3 separate regions of the Homo sapiens genome follow, and regions 2 and 3 are each linked to region 1. The links are contacts of gene promoters, found by promoter capture Hi-C in human tissues and cell types (Jung and others, 2019). All regions are on one chromosome and are shown on one strand. Each heading gives the region's core, a stretch centred on a gene start or on the middle of the fragment in contact. The rest is flanking DNA. Distances are from core to core; before and after follow the strand shown. Region 1 holds the start of CCM2L (CCM2 like scaffold protein). Region 2 overlaps TTLL9 (tubulin tyrosine ligase like 9). Region 3 overlaps TM9SF4 (transmembrane 9 superfamily member 4).

Region 1 (2,700 bases), core at 148-2,647:
TGAAACCTTGCACAAAAAATACTTCCGCAAGGACATCTGCCCAGCAACTGCCTGTCCAACTTTAGACTGGCATCACCCTTGCTATTGATCTTTGCAATCAAGAATAATTATTTCAGAAACAATAATGTAATCCTTATTTTTTTCCTTTAAAAATCTTTGTCTTCCCCCCACCTCCCTGAAAATGCACATCGCTTACTATGGCATATGGGTAATTCCCACTGCAATGCTTAATTCCTAAGTGAAACATCTTTTATTTTAGAGAGCCTCTGTTTGTTCTTTAATTTGACAACCACTAAGCAGGTAAACAGTTAATGTTTACTGAGCACTTATTTTTTTTCAGTTTTTTTTTTTTTTTTTTTTTTTTTTGAGATGGAGTCTCAGCCAGTCACCAAGGCTGGAGTGTAATGGCTGGATCTCAGCTCACTGCAACCTCCACCACCCAGGTTCAAGCGCTTCTCCTGCCTCAGCCTCCAGAGTAGCTGGGATTACAGGCATGTGCCACCGCACCCGGCTGATTTTTGTATTTTTAGTAGAGACAAGGTTTCACCATGTTGGCGAGGCTGGTCTCGAACTCCTCACCTCAGGTGATCTGCCTGCCTCAGCCTCTCAAAGTGCTGGGATTACAGGTGTGAGCCACCACGCCCAGCCTTACTGAGTACTTAATATGTGCCAGAAGTTCTTCTAGGTGCATTTAATCCCCGCAAGGTCACTATGAGGTTAAACTAGTATTATGCTCATTTTAAAGACGGGAAAACTGAGGCACTGGTGGTTAAGGGACTTCCCAAAGGTCATAACCCTAGTAAGTGCCAAAGCCAGGATTCGAATTCAAGCAGCCTATCTTCAAAGCCCACGCATACTGCCTCCCTTAATAGTAATGATTAATTTTTTAAAATCATAACTTGCTTGGCTACAATACTCTCTATAAGGCACTTTCCATCCACCTTTTCATTTCTCACCACAGCAGCCTAGGGAGGGAGGCAGTGTTGACTCCCAACTTATAGAGAGGAGGGGGAAACAGGCTGTGACAGGGGGAACTGACTTGCCTTGCCAAGGTCACACAACAAGGTCAGTGGCAGAAGTAGGGCTGGAACTTGGAATTTTCCAAACCAGGACTTCAAATGTGGGGGGCCCTTTCCCAGCCTTGGCCAATTCCCAAGCTCCCCCAATAACCCGCCTTCTGGCTAGAGGCCTTGAGCCTCCCTCCTCAGGTCAGCTCTGCCTGGGCTTCCACCCTTCAGCTGCAGGGTCCCAAGGCTGTGTCCTCCACACCCCCTGCCCTCCCCATCAGATGGGAGGGGCAGGAACTCCAGGGCTGGTGGAGTTTCCGACCAGGCAGGAAAAAGAACAAAGGAACTGGATGTGGGGGTGGAAGGGATGGCCAGGAGGGTGGCAGGAGTAGAGGGGACATTTCACCATGGAATATGAAGTCAAGAAAGGGAAGAAGGTAGGTGGGAGGTTGGGAGGGACGAAGGGAGAGGAATGTCCCCAAAGCTGGGGAAGGGGGCAAACTGGGGCGGGGTGGGGGGTCGGTAGCGAGGGGCATAAGTGGAGCCTTTCTTCTCATTTGGAAGTAACTTCCTTCCCACTCTTGGACAGCCAGACAGTCAGGCTCTAAACTCCCTGTTTCTCCACTCTCAGTGGCCTCTGGCATCCCTAACGTGGACAGACAGGGACCTTCTCAGGAAACCTGGCCAGACGGACTCAGTTTGGGAGATTCTCCACACCTGCTTCCCTGGTGTTCCCCGCAGCTCCCTCCTGCAGCCTCTCAGACAGACGGACAGACAGACACCCAGCAGATCCATTCTCCTGCTCGTCACTGCCCCAAACAGAAGGACTCAGCCAGGGCAATTCCGATAGGATGTTGCCTACACAGGCTTGAGTCTCCCACCTGCCCCCTGCCCCTCCCACCTTTCTACAAGGGCGTATGTAAGGCGTCAGCCAGAAGCCATTCCCCTCACCCCTTCTGACTCTGAAGTTTTCTAGTATGCTTCTCTGGGTGTCTCACCTGGTTGTCTTTGGAGTTCAGGGAGGCGCTCTGATTTTAACTTCCATCTTACCCCCATTTCCACCCTCCCCTCTACCCCACCCCCACCAGAAACATATGTCCGGGCTGTTCTAAAAGGTGCCCACATGAATCACAGAGGGCTCAGAAGGGAGCCAAGACATACGTGCATGTTTTCTCTTAGTTTGTTCTTTTAATAGACATTTATTGAGTGCCTATTATGCACCAGGTATTTCTTTTTTTAAAGCAATAAATAAGTTAATGTAAAATTGCATAGAAGGGCCGGGTGCAGTGGCTCACACCTGTAATTCTAGCACTTTGGGAGGCCGAGGCGGGTGGATCACCTGAGGTCAGGGGTTCGAGACCAGCCAGGCCAACATGGCGAAACCCTGTCTCTACTAAAAATACAAAAATTAACTGGGCATGGTGGCACATGCCTGTAATCCCAGCTACTAAGGAGGCTGAAGCTTGAACCTAGGAGGCAGAGGTTGCAGTGAGCCAAGATCGCGCCACTGCACTCCAGCCTGGGTGACAGAGTGAGACTCTGTCTAAAATAAATAAATAAATACATAAATAAAAATTTTTTAAAAATCATAGGAGGTCCCATACTCAGTGCTGGAGGAAACTGATCAGTTTGAGTCGAGAACTGACGGGTGGAAGGAAAGTGGGTAGGGAAGAGTGTTTGAGGCAGAGGAACA
Region 2 (2,785 bases), core at 30-2,529, 89 kb before region 1:
GCCCTTGAGCAAGTTACTTCACCTGTCAGTGCCCCAGTAAATGGGGATGGTAATTATACCTGCTAAGGATGCAGTGAGCTAATAAGCAAACACGCGCACACACACACACACACACACATTCTCACACACACCCACACACCCAGCACAGTGCCTGGCACTCAGCGCTCGATGCACGTTCTTTATCTGGGCCTCCTGCTCACGTGGCTGGGGAGAGTTTGGCTGACTCTTCCTCAGGGCCTAGACTGAGCCTCGGGGGCAGCTACCTCCCAACCCCAATCCATTCTTGTCCCAAGACACAGTACAGTAGAAATCCTGGTTCAAATCCTGCCTCTCCCACTCAGCAGCTGTGTGGTCTTGGGAAAATGACCGAAGCCCTCTGAACCTGAGCGGTGACGATGGTGCAGGGTGGGTGGGAGGAGCAGGATGGCTGAAATCCTATAGGACCAGCCCCTGCTGTACCAGGAGGCGCACAGCAGTGCTCAATGTCTTGACTCCTCCCATGAAACTGTCAGGGCACTACAGGAAAGAGCTCAGCAGCCTGGAGGCCCAGCCTGCCTGGAGCACGGTCAGTCCCTCTGGCAGCCACGTGAGTGGAGGTAGGGCTGGGCCCAGGTCCCAGGAAGGGAAGACCTGGCTGCTTCTGTCTTGACACAGCTGAGTGGGGAACAATGGTGGGTGAAGCAGGTCTACCCTGAGAGCTAGTGCTGCCTGCCATTATTGGGGCTGTTGTGTCACCCCATCAAGTGTGTGACCCTTGTCTTTGAGTGAAGGGGACAATAGGTGGGAGAGGTGTTTGCAACCTGCGAGGTGCTGTGCAGATGCATGAGAGCATTGCTGTCTTCCAGAGCTGGGCTGGCAGGTAGAGAAGAAGGAGCAATGTCCTCGGGGGCCCATGGGTGGTGTAGGCAGCACTGTCCAACAGAACTTTCTAGAGGGATGAAAATGGATATCTGTGCTCTCCAATGCGGTGACCACTAGCCACATGCAGGATGTTGAGCACTTGCCACATGGCTGGTGTGACTGAGGACTGGATTTATAATTTCATATCCTTCTTAAAAATTGTGGGCCGGCAACAGACACATGAAAAAATGCTCATCATCAGTGGCCATCAGAGAAATGCAAATCAAAACCACAATGAGATACCATCTCACACCAGTTAGAATGGCGATCATTAAAAAGTCAGGAAACAACAGGTGCTGGAGAGGATGTGGAGAAATAGGAACACTTTTACACTGTTGGTGGGACTGTAAACTAGTTCAACCAGTGTGGAAGACAGTGTGGTGATTCCTCAGGGATCTAGAACTAGAAATACCATTTGACCCAGCCATCCCATTACTGGGTATATACCCAAAGGATTATAAATCATACTGCTATAAAGACACATGCACACGTATGTTTATTGTGGCACTATTCACAATAGCAAAGACTTGGAACCAAGACAAATGTCCAACAATAATAGACTGGATTAAGAAAATGTGGCACATATACACCATGAAATACTATGCTGCCATAAAAAAGGATGAGTTCATGTCTTTTGTAGGGACATGGATGAAGCTGGAAACCGTCATTCTCAGCAAACTATTGCAAGGACAGAAAACCAAATACCGCATGTTCTCACTCATAGGTGGGAATTGAACAATGAGAACACTTGGACACAGGAAGGGGAACATCACACACCGGGGCTTATTTTGGGGTGGAAGGAGGGGGGAGGGATAGCATTAGGAGATACACCTAATGTAAATGACGAGTTAATGGGTGCAGCACACCAACATGGCACATGTATACATATGTAACAAAACTGCACGTTGTGCACATGTACCCTAGAACTTAAAGTATAATAAAAAAAAATTGTGGGTCGGGCGTGGTGGCTCACACCTGTAATCCCAGCACTTTGGGAGGCTGAGGTGGGCAGATCATTTGAGGTCAGGAGTTCGAGACCAGCCTGGCCAACATGGTGAAACCCCATCTCTACTAAAAATACAAAAATTAACCATGGTGGCTGTCACCTGTAATCCCAGCTACTTAGGAGGCTGAGGCACAAGAGTTGCTTGAACCCGAGAGGTGGAGGTTGCAGTGAGCCAAGATGATGCCACTGCACTCCAGCCTGGACAACAGAGCAAGACTCATTCTCAAAAAAAAAAAAAAATTGTGGTAAAATCTGTAACATGAAATTTACCATTGTAACTTCTTTTAAGTGTGTGGCTTTATCACACTAAGTGCATTCACATTGTTGTGCAACCACCACCACCACCATCCGTCTCCAGAACGTTTCATCTTCCCAAACTGAAACTCTGTAACTGTTAAACACAAGCTCCCCGTTCCCTCCTCTCCCCAGCCCCTGGCAACCCCCATCTACCTTCTATCTCTATGAACTTGACTACTCCAGGGACTCATCTAAGTGGAATCAGACAATATTTGTCCTTTTGTATCTGGCTTATTTCACTTAGCCTTATGTCTTCGAATTTCATCCATGTTGTAGCATGTAATTTCATTTACTTTTCATCAAGGTAAATGTAAATGGCGTCTTGCGGCCAGTGACTGCCCTACTGGGCAGCACCAGTCTAGAGTTTAAACACTCAGGCTCTGGGCCTAGACCATGTAGGTTCACATCCCAGCAACACCACTAACTGGCTGTGTGACCTTGGACAAGTTACTCTCCCTCTCTGTGCTTCAGTTTCTAATCTGTGAAATGGAAATAACATTAGTACTTACCTGACAGGGTTGATTTAAAGATTCAGTGAGCTACCCAAAGTAGTGTCTAACAGAATACCTAGTACACAGGAAA
Region 3 (2,700 bases), core at 137-2,636, 120 kb after region 1:
TGAATGAAATAAGGAGATGTGCCATTGGGCGTGGTAGCTCACACTTGTAATCTCGGCACTTTGGGAGGCCGAGGTGGGCAGATCACCTGAGGTCAGGAGTTGAAGACCAGCCCGGGCAATGTGGTGAAACCCCGTCTGATCTAAAAATAGAAAAATTAGCCAGGTGAGGTGGTGGATGCCTGTAGTCCCAGCTACTCGGTAGGCTGAGGCAGGAGACTCACTTGAACTTGGGAGGCAGAGGTTGCAGTGACCTGAGATCATGCCATTGTACTCCAACCTGGGTAACTCCGTCTCAAAAAAAAAAAAGAAGAGAGATGTGCCGTGCAGGTGCCTGTGGGAAGGGCATTCCACCAGAAGGCACAGTAAAGACGAAGGCCCTGAGGGGTGCAGAAAGGTTTGTTGTCAGGACAACAAGGAGGCCCGTGTGGCTGAGCTGAGCGAGGAGGAGAGTGGGAGGTGAGAGAGGCCAGCACGGTTTTGGAGAAACTTGTAGGAACATCTCTTGGTAACATAGGAGCTTTTGACAGCGTGAACTAGTTGCTATACAGAGAAATGGGAATTAATTAAATGTCCTGGAGCTTTATTTCCTGCCAGCTATCCTGGGAGTTACACACTATAAATGGTTAAAAGAACATTGATCCAGAAGTGGGGAGACATGGCTCCTGTGTGATAGTCTTCCCTTTTGCCCAGATGTTAATTACTTTGTGGCTAACTCCTGGAAGTGCAGAATTGTCCTGTGGCACTCTTGGGAGCATTTGGGAGAGAACATTTATGAGGTCTTCAGGCTTCATGGGTCAGAGGGTGGCTACACTGGGTCAATTAAAGCAACATGAAGGTGGTATGACTTGATCTGCCTCAGAGGATCTTCTTCACTTCTTCTCCCCAATCCAACCCTGGCCTCTCTTCTGAGCAGGATTGGTTGCCGTGGTCTTTACTGCTTTTCTCCCTGATGTGTGAAACAAGCGCCTTCTATGTGCCTGGGGTCGCGCCTATCAACTTCCACCAGAACGATCCCGTAGAAATCAAGGTAAGTGTGTTCCTGGATTTTTGGAGCCTCTGTGCTAGGCAGTGTGTCTGGAGCACCATGGTGAGCTGTTCGTGTCCATCCTGTGGTTGCAGAGAAGAAAGAATAGTGCCAGTTACCCCGGAACTCTGCCTCTCCCTCTCCCTGTGCCTCTGGTTCTCGGTCCCCTCTCTGTTTCTGGTTCTTTCTGTGTCTCTGTCCCTGTGTATGCTTGTGTATATTTGCATCTCGGTCTCTTTCTCACTCTCACTTTTGCTTTCAAGTATTCTGTCTCTGTCATGTATGTGTCCATCTCTTTTTGTGCCTTTGTCTTACTCCACCTGCCTCTTCTTTAGCATCTCTGCCTCCCTTTCTCACCTGCTCCATCTTCTCTGTTACCAGCTTTGTCAGCATAACTCCTAGTGTCTGCTCATATTGTTCATACATTGTGAACGTCTCTTTTCCTTGGCAGTCAGACTTGTAACTTGCAGGAACAGTCATTAAAATAACTTTTACTGAGGGTTATTTACATGCCAGGCATTGTGCATGGCTTAGCTCAGGTTGCCCCCCAAGAACCCACTGGGGCCAATTCCATATGTTACACAGATTTCCTATTCATTTTACAGATGGGGAAACCGAGGCCTGGGAAGGAAAATTAACATGTTCAAGGTCACATAGTGAGGAAGACATAGGGTTAGTTCAAACCCCATCTCTATTTAGAGGAGACGTGGTCTTTCTCTGTTGCCTAAGCTGGAGTGCAGTGGCGTGAGCATAGCTCACTGCAGCTTTGACCTCCCAGGCTAAAGTGATCCTTCTGCCTCAGCCTCCCAAGTAGCTGGGACTACAGGTGTGCACCACCATGCCTGGCTAATTTTTTTTTTTTTTTTTTTAAGTAGAGATGAGGTCTCACTATGTTGCACAGGCTGGTCTTGAACTCTTGGGCTCAAACAGTTCTCATGCTTCAGCCTCCCAGAGTGCTGGGATTATCGGGCATGAGCCACCACACCCAGCCCAAGACCCCATCTCTTAACCACTGCAGTACCTTCTTCCCACTACCTCTGTCAAAAGCTCCCTCCAGAGCAGAGGAGTGGCCTGGAGGTACCAGAGCTGCTCTGGCTTCCAGTCCCACATAGCTAAGTATGTGAGGGTGGACGCCTTGGGTGGGAAGAGAGGGAGTGGGAGGCAACGTAAAGGTGGGACGCATCTCTCTGTAACGTGCATTCTTTTCTCATTGTCCTGAGTGAGAATGCTAAGAAACACAAAATTGTTAAAACAGACTTTTTGGCCATTTTTCCTCAAGCAATTCATGAAATGTTTAATAGAGGTCCTTAATCCCTGCAGTTTCACACCCGGAAAGCTCTGGAACTCAGTTTTTCCAAGCTCACTGAAGGCAAGAACTGACCAGAACTGAACATGAAGCTGTTTATTGACTTTTTCTATTCCACTTAATATGAATATCTTTGCATTTCTCTGCACAAATAGTTATCGAATATGAGGTACTGTCCAGACCCAGCTTGGCTATGGTTTGTATACCACATTGCCTTCTAAAATCTGGAAATTTTCTTTTTCTTTTCTTTTTTTTTTTTGTGAGATGGAATCTTGCTCTGTCACCCAGGCTGGAGTGCAGTGGCATGATCTCTGCTTACTGCAACCTCTGCCTCCCAGGTTCAAGCAATTCTCCTGCCTCAGCCTCCTGA

The links. Contacts are between HindIII fragments. The study calls those that stand out against the background at their distance.
Region 2: a fragment that was not itself captured here is called in contact with the fragment with the promoter of CCM2L in region 1 in 2 of the 25 tissues and cell types used here (IMR-90 fibroblasts and spleen).
Region 3: a fragment that was not itself captured here is called in contact with the fragment with the promoter of CCM2L in region 1 in 2 of the 25 tissues and cell types used here (lymphoblastoid cells and mesenchymal stem cells).

What each region holds. Positions count from the first base shown.
Region 1 is chr20:32,009,041-32,011,740 of GRCh38, forward strand. CCM2L (CCM2 like scaffold protein) reads left to right here and starts at 1,398. Exons shown (of 10, transcript NM_001365692.1): 1 at 1,398-1,444. The coding sequence starts at 1,415. RefSeq lists enhancers at 1,220-1,747, 2,658-2,700. The HindIII fragment of the contact is 15,048 bases long and covers 1-2,700 here.
Region 2 is chr20:31,920,134-31,922,918 of GRCh38, forward strand. The region is part of intron 7 of TTLL9 (tubulin tyrosine ligase like 9); the gene reads left to right. Among named protein-coding and RNA genes, the nearest start is that of PDRG1, 31 kb to the right of the region's middle. The HindIII fragment of the contact is 3,940 bases long and covers 1-2,785 here.
Region 3 is chr20:32,132,100-32,134,799 of GRCh38, forward strand. TM9SF4 (transmembrane 9 superfamily member 4) reads left to right here. Exons shown (of 18, transcript NM_014742.4): 2 at 914-1,027. Among named protein-coding and RNA genes, the nearest start is that of TM9SF4, 24 kb to the left of the region's middle. RefSeq lists an enhancer at 1,183-1,342. The HindIII fragment of the contact is 7,462 bases long and covers 1-2,700 here.